2 separate regions of the Homo sapiens genome follow, and region 2 is linked to region 1. The links are contacts of gene promoters, found by promoter capture Hi-C in human tissues and cell types (Jung and others, 2019). All regions are on one chromosome and are shown on one strand. The core of a region is centred on a gene start or on the middle of the fragment in contact, and the rest is flanking DNA. Distances in the headings are between cores, read along the strand shown.

Region 1 (3,698 bases), core at 267-2,766:
CTCTTTCCTCTTCTGTTCCTGTAAGGGCAGGGCCTCCTTCAGGAACAGCCACCAATAAGCTTCCTCCTTCCTTCTGGTCAGTTGGATTTGCCACTGTAATGAGAAAATGGGTGCCCTGAGTAGGTGCTCAGGAAAGCTGACTGCACAACAGTCTTCTCCTGTCCTGTTTCCCCAGGCTCTAGAGTTTTCTGAATGCAGTTTCCCCAGCCTGGCACCCAAGTGGGTACTGCCTGTGACAGCTGTGCTGTGTGGCAAGGACCTCTAGGCTTGGGATGCTCTTTTAGGAATGGGGGTGACGTGGGGTGGAGGAGTGGCAGTCTACACTGTTTTACTGGCTAAAACAGCCAGAGCCTATTGCTCTTTGTCATACTGGGCCTCACTTGAGCCTCAAAGCAACCTCATGATGTAGCTACCATTATTTTCCCTGTTTTGCTGAGTCTCAGATAAACTAAATAATATTGTCTCTGAGTGACATGGCTAATAGGTGGTGGCAACCAGTTATATACCCAGTGCAATATTATTGTGAAATCTCTGCACTTCAACCCTAAACTTTTACAAAAAACCAGGGGGTCTGCTTTTCAGGTCTGAAAGTCAGTAGGAACTAGGGGAAATGAAGCTTGTGTTTTTTAACAGGTGGAAAACACTTCAGCACAACTGGCAAACTCCAATGAGACCTTACATGAAAGCAGTTTTACCTACATTCACTGGCAGGAGGGAAGAACCTGGGTGGTGACCCTGGGCACTGGGAATATCCTCTGGCACCAGAACAGATTAATAACCTTAATGGCAACTTTGTGAAAATAATAATTTTTTCAGTCCTGCAGCTAACCCTGGGTTTTCCTGATTTACTTTTTAGGGGGCAGACGCCAGTATTTCTGACCAACAGCTCCAGTCGCCTGTGTACATGGAAATTATAACTTACTTTTTCAGCATCTTTTCGATGATTTTCTTAACCATGGGCGATGCGGGGTTGAGACAAGCTTTCTGCCCATTCTTGAGTGTGGCTCTGCAGAGAGAAGGGAATCTCGTGAGACAGGAGGTCGGGCTGAGGACAGGGTTTGGGGCAGCGGGAGAGTCGGGGACCCCAGCAGTGGCAGCGGCAGCGATGGGCGAGACTTACATGACTTCGGTTTGGGCGCAGTGGGGTCCGGGGGACTTCACCTTCACACTTTGGATGTTCTTGAGGTGAATTCCCTGCAGGGTCTGCAAGCACTGGCAGCGCAGTTCAGTGGCCAGGGGCGCTCCTAGGGAAGAAGAGACTCGCTGATTGAGCGGGGCTGTCGGCGCGGGGCGCCCACCCCAGCCGCGTCCGGCCCGGGGACCCCAGGGCGCCGGGACCCACCTGCTGCGCGCCGGCTGGCGGCCACCAGGAGCAGGAGCAGCAGCGCCACCCGCAGGAGCCGGGGATTGCTGGGGGCGGCGGAGAGCGTGGCGCGGGCCATGGGGCTCAGCAGGCGGTTCGAGCGGCTGTGCGAGGAGGAGAGCTGGCAAGGAGCTGCCTGTGGCCCGGGCTCTGTGGCTCTCCGAGAACGGCGAACCCCTTTTATGCATGGTTGGGGCTGGAAAGCCCGGAGTCCCGGGCCAGGGAAATTCCCGGAGCTCCAGATCGATCCCGAGTTCGGAAGGAAGGCGATGGCCCCGCCTCTGGGGTGGAGGGGGGTCGGGGCACTCACGAGTGACGTCCGGGTCTGACTGTCTTGCGTAACTCCCGCCAACTGTGGGATGTTCTCTTTCTGCCCCGAATCCCTGGAGCGGGAGCGAGAGCCCGCCGCTCTCAGAGATACCGAGATAACCGCCTGCGAGGAGGCGCTTCGTGAACCCAGTGCAGTGCGTCGTGGGTCAGATCCCTTAGACCCACGTAGGGACCGCGCTACATCCTTACCGGGGGGAGTTACTTCTCTGGAAGACATTTCAGTTGTTGGGATTGAAAGTTAGGGCAAGAACTGCAGCATGTCTTATCTATCCTCTCTCTTTAGTTTGGGTTCTGCAAATTTCATTAATGTTTGAAATAAACGCACGCTTTAACAGTACATGTGTCATCTCAGATGACGCATAAGAGCTTTTGTCTCCTTCCTGGTGTTTTATGATCTTAAAAGCAAATATCACGTGTGTGTGTGTGTGTGTGTGTGTGTGTGTGTGTGTGTGTGTGTGTTTCAACGTAGTGGAGCCAGGTGTTGGGTGCGGGAACAGACCATTGCCAAGGGTCAATTCAGTGTTTATTTTAGTTAACAGTGTTGCAATCCCCCATCCTTTCTCTCTTTGAAATCTTGGAACATCTCGAACTCTAGTAATTCCAGTAGCATCAATTTTTTGTTGTATGGAAGTCTGTGTTTTGATCCATGGAAGTCACTGGGAGCTGCGAGGGGCCTGTTGGGCTCAGGAGGTCTGCCTTTTCTAGTGCTGTCCCTGGGCAGAAAAGGCCATAGACACCACCAGAAAAGGAGCAGGGAATGAGACTCCGCTTGTTTACTACTCTAAGCACAAGCAGACATGTCTGATATATACATACTAGATTGCTAACATAATTGCATTTCCATGCCATATGTATTTACCAGCATCCTGGGATTGGTTCCCTCTAGAGAAACAGCTATCGAGGAAATTTTAGTTCTAGAGGAATGTCAATAAAGCATTTCCAAGCCTGTTTAGCTGATGCCTTCTCACTGGATTACTGACTTTTCATCATCAATTTCAATGACCCCCTCTCTTTAAAAATTAAGCTGTAGGCCTACAATACTCTGTCTTAATTCTTCCTGGTGGATGCAGACTTCAGGGATATGGAGATATTCTGCCACTGCTATGAGAAGGGCTGGGAGTGGCACGAGGATGAAGAAGTGGGACTACCTTAGGAATAGAGTGTTCCCTGGATGCTGCAGCTGTAGAGATCACTTGATAAGGATGTCAGGGCTGAAGTTTCAGCCATACCACTAACTTGCTTCATGACCCTTGGTAATTTATGCTTTATTTGCTCATGTTTCTCCCCTGTAGAAGAGCTTATAATAGTGCCTGCCTCACGGGGTTGTTAGAAGTATTGATTGTTAATATGTGTAAACCATCAGTGCATGTAAAGTGTTATGTAAATATTTGTTAAATAACAAAATAGAAGTGGTGTTTCACAACCTTACTGATATAGGCTGGATGTTTGTGTCTCTTTCAAATTCAGATGATGAAGCCCTGACTCCCTTATGTGCTAATATTAGAAGACAGGACCATGGGAAGTAATTAGGTTTAGGTGAGGTTATGAAGGTATGGCCCCCATGATGGGATAAGTGCCATTACAGCAAGAGATCAGTGAGCTTTCGATCTCTGGCTCTCTCTCCCTTTCTGCATTGTGAGGACACAGCAAGAAGGCCACCATCTGCAAACTGAGAAGAGGGCCCTCACCAAGCATGAAATCTGCCAGGATCTTAATCTTGGACTCCCCAGCCTCCAGAACTGTGAAATAATTGTTGTTTAAGCCCCCTAGCCTATGGCATTCTGTTATAGCAGCTCAAACTGACTAAGACACTTAACTAAACAGAAGCACTCTGATAAAGCCTTATGAACACACACACGCACAAAGAAAGAAATATTTTCAAAGAAACATCTTCTAATTTACCTTTAAAATTTTTCAGCATCAGAAATTTTAAAGGAGGGTGCATTTCTATCCTTATGGGATCTTACAATAATTTTTTGATCCATTGTTTGTTTGAAATTTTAGT
Region 2 (4,183 bases), core at 794-3,293, 170 kb before region 1:
CTTAGAAAAGTCCTATTTATCAAATCCTAGAATTAGAATTTTGGCTTCCATTCCTAGATCATATTACTTTTCAATAAACATATTTTTGCAAAATGGCATCATATTGTAATAGCTGATTTTTACCATTGAGAAGTATTATATATACTATGTAGTAAAATAAACCCTGATAATTATATTGAATATTTAACGAGTTCTTATATTTTTTCATTGACATTTCAACTTAGTGAATTATATTGATTGACTTTCCTATATTGAGTCAATCTTGTATCCCTTGATGTATTTTTTAAACTTCTAATTTTCAGTTTTCTAATCCTTTATTTTTAAAGAACTTTTACATTTATAGTCATATTGTGATTCACCTGAAAAATTCCTTTCAGAAATAGCTCTTGTCAGGTTTTATTATCAGGAATATGTCAGCCTTATGTAGTAAGTCAGAAAGGGATCTAAATTTTGACACTGTGAAATAATTTCTGTAAGTTTGAATTTTTTTTCCTGAATATTTGGTAGACTTCCCTATTAAAAATGGCTGGTTTTGTGCATTTCTTGGGTAGGAAATATTGTAAGTATTAATTCAACTTTATTAAAGGTTACAGGTTTATTTAAATATAATATTTCCTCTTTAATTTACTGTTATATGTTTCTACAAATTTGTCCATTTTACCTATTTTCACATTAATCGCCACCAAATGATAACATCTTCTTGTTAACTTTGTAATGTCTGCAGTCTTGACCAATCACACCAAAATCTATTCAACAACCAACTCTTGGTTTTGGTGATCCTTTCTATTGAATGTGTGTTTCCAATTTCATAAATTTCTACTCTTATATCTAGTTCCTTCTCTTTGTCTTTTTATTTAATTTAGATATTTTAAGTTCATTTTCTAGCATAGCATTTTAAAGCTGTAAATGTCCCTACATTACCTAGGTCTCATGTGTTCAACATACGGCAAAATTATCAGTTGATTCTATATATTTTCTAATAAGTTTTTATGTATTTTCTGATTTTCTGATTTTTGAGTTATTTAGAAGTGATTTTATTAATTTCCAAATATATGTTGCTTTCAGTATTGTTGAGTTTTTTTCTAAAGTACAGTTTTGTGGTTGATACCTAACTTATTCACACAATAATCACAGATCATTGTGTGTATCACAACAAACATCGAAAAGTATTTTTGAGTCTTGCCTTCTATCTAAATATGTGGTCAGCTTTCATAAATGGTCCATGTCTTCTTGAAAATACTATGTTCTCTGAAACTATCACCATAATCTTTGCCATGAACCTATCCATTACTTCCAAAAATTTCCTCCTTAACTGTTTGTTATTTTTCTTTTTGTATATCAGTTACACCTCAATAAAGTGGGCTTTTTTAAGAAAAGAATATACTCTGTAGCTATTGAAAATTGAGTATGTGGAGATATATATTAATATACATACATATACATAAAAAGCACAATTAATACATTTCATGCAATGGATATGTATATATTGATATATATATCATGTATATATGTTTTTACATATATTGATATATATATCATGTATATATGTTTTTACATATATATGTATATGTGTATATATATCGATATATATGTGTATATGTATCGATACATGTATATACATATATACATATATATCGATATATATGTAAAAACATATATACAGATATATCCATTGCATGGAATGTATTAATTGTGCTTTTTAATAGTCTGTATCTTAATGTCTTTTCTGCATAAATTATCAATTATTTAAAAATATATGTTAAAATTTTCTAATGAAATATTTATATATTTCTTCTTGGACTTATTTATGATATTTTATATATTACATATTTTGAATCTATCATATACAAATAAATTTGATTTCAATATACTCCAGACTAAGTGACTTTTTATAACCATGTATATACTCTCTTAATGTCTAGAAATGTTTGGGAAAAAAAAACTCAGCTGACACCTTGATCTTTGACTTCTAGCCTCCAGAATTGTATGAAAATAAATTTATGTTTTTAAGTCACTCAGTGTGTGGTACTTTGTTATCAAGCAAACTAATACGTTACTCATGCCCAGTGGTATTTGCTGTAGATGATACAGAACCATTGAAGACTCCCAAGGCAGAAAGGTAACCTAATTAGGTTTGTGTTTTAATGGAATCACTTTGCAGTGAATAAGATTGGGGGGCAATAATCAACACTTTTAAAGAAAAGAAATTCTAACCCAGAAATTCATATCCAGCCAAACTAAGCTTCATAAGCAAAAGAGAAATAATGTCTTTTTCAGACAAGCAAATGCTGAGGCATTTTCTATAAAGCAACCACATAAATAAGTCTGCAAAATAACCAGCTAACATCATGATGACAGGATCAAATCCAAACATATCAATACTAACCTTAAATATAAATTGTCTAAATGTCCCAATTAAAAGACACAGAGTGGCAAACTGGATAAAGAACCAAGACCTTTTGGTATGCTATCTTCAAGAGACTGATCTCACATCTGATAACACACATAGGCTCAAAATAAAGGCATAGAGGAAAAATCTGCCAAGCAAATGGAAAACAGAAAAAAGCAGGGGTTGCAATCCTAGTTTCTGATAAAACAGACTTTAAACCAACAAAGGTCAAAAAAGACAAGGGCATTACAAAATAGTAAAGGGTTCAATTTAACAAGTAGATATAACTATTCTAAAGATAGATGCACTGAACACAAGAGCACCCAGACTCATAAAGCAAGTTGTTAGAGACCTTCAAAGAGACTTAGACTTCCACACAATAATAGTGGGAGACGTTAATACTCCACTGACAATATTAGACAGATCATTGAGAAAAAATTAGCAAAGCTATTCAGGACCTAAACCCAGCACTGAATCAAATGGACCTGATAGATACCTACAGAACTGTCCACCCCAAAGCAACAGAATATACATTTTTCTCATTGCCACGTGGCACATACTGTAAAACTGATCAGATAATTGGAAGTAAGAACTGAAGTCATAACAAAGAGTCACTCAGAACACAACACAATTAAATTAGAAATCAAGACTAAGAAATTCACTCATAACGATTACAAGGAAAATGAAAAACGTGCCCCTGAATGACTTTTGAGTAAATTGTAAAATTAAGACAGAAATCAAGAAATTCATTGAAACTACTGCGAACAAAGATTCAACAAATCAGAATGTCTGGGACACAGCTAAGGCAGTGTTAAGAGGGAAAGTAACAGCACCAAATGCCCACATCAAAAAGTTAGAAAGATCTCAAGTTAGCAACCTAAAATCACAACTAAAAAACCTAGAGAACCAAATGTAAATCAGTCCCAAAGCTAGCAGAAGACAAAAAATAACCAAAATCAGAGCTGAACTGAAGGAGATTGAGGCATGAAAAACCATTCAGAAGATCAACAAATCCAGAAGCTGTATTTTTTGACAAAATTAATAAAGTATATAGACTGCTAGCTAGACTAATAAAGAAGAAAAGAGGGAAGATTCAAATACCCACAGTCAGAAATGACAAAGGGGATATTACCACTGACCTCCCAGAAATACAAACAACTATCAGAGAATATTATGAACATCTTTATGCACATAAACTAGAAAATCTAAAAGAAATAGATAAATTATTGGACACATACACCAAGACTGAACCAGGAAGAAACTGAATCCCTGAACAGACCAATACTGGGCTCTGAAATTGAGACAGTAATAAATAGAATACCAACTAAAAAAACCCCAGGACCAAATGGATTTACAACTAATTTGACCACATGTAAAGAAGAGCTGGTACCATTCCTACTGAAACGATTCCTAACAATTGAGGAGAAGGGACTTCTCTCTAACTCATTCTATGAGGCCAGCATCATCCTGACACCAAAGCCTGACAGAGATACAAGAAAAAAAAAAAAGAAAACTTTATGCCAATATCCTTGATGAACATTGATGCAAATGTTCTCAACAAAATACCGGCAAATTGAATCTAGCAGCACAACAAAGAGCTTATCCACCACGACCAATTAGGCTCTATCCTTGGTATGCAAGGTTGGTTCAACATATGCAAATCAATAAATGTGATTTATAATATAAACAGAACTAAAGACAAAAACCACATGATTATCTCAATAGAAGCAGAGAAGGCTTCCGATAAAATTCAACATCCATTCTTGTTAAAAACTCTCAATAAACTAGGTATTG

Evidence for each region. The method cuts DNA at HindIII sites, captures the fragments that hold promoters and counts their contacts. A contact is called where the count stands out against the background at its distance.
Region 2: a fragment that was not itself captured here is called in contact with the fragment with the promoter of CXCL2 in region 1 in 2 of the 25 tissues and cell types used here (H1 embryonic stem cells and IMR-90 fibroblasts).

Annotation. Positions count from the first base shown.
Region 1 is chr4:74,097,679-74,101,376 of GRCh38, forward strand. CXCL2 (C-X-C motif chemokine ligand 2) reads right to left here and starts at 1,517. Exons shown (of 4, transcript NM_002089.4): 1 at 1,343-1,517; 2 at 1,121-1,244; 3 at 923-1,006; 4 at 1-93. The coding sequence starts at 1,442. The coding sequence ends at 78. The HindIII fragment of the contact is 5,836 bases long and covers 799-3,698 here.
Region 2 is chr4:73,923,548-73,927,730 of GRCh38, forward strand. No RefSeq gene overlaps it. Among named protein-coding and RNA genes, the nearest start is that of CXCL1, 56 kb to the left of the region's middle. The HindIII fragment of the contact is 9,274 bases long and covers 1-4,183 here.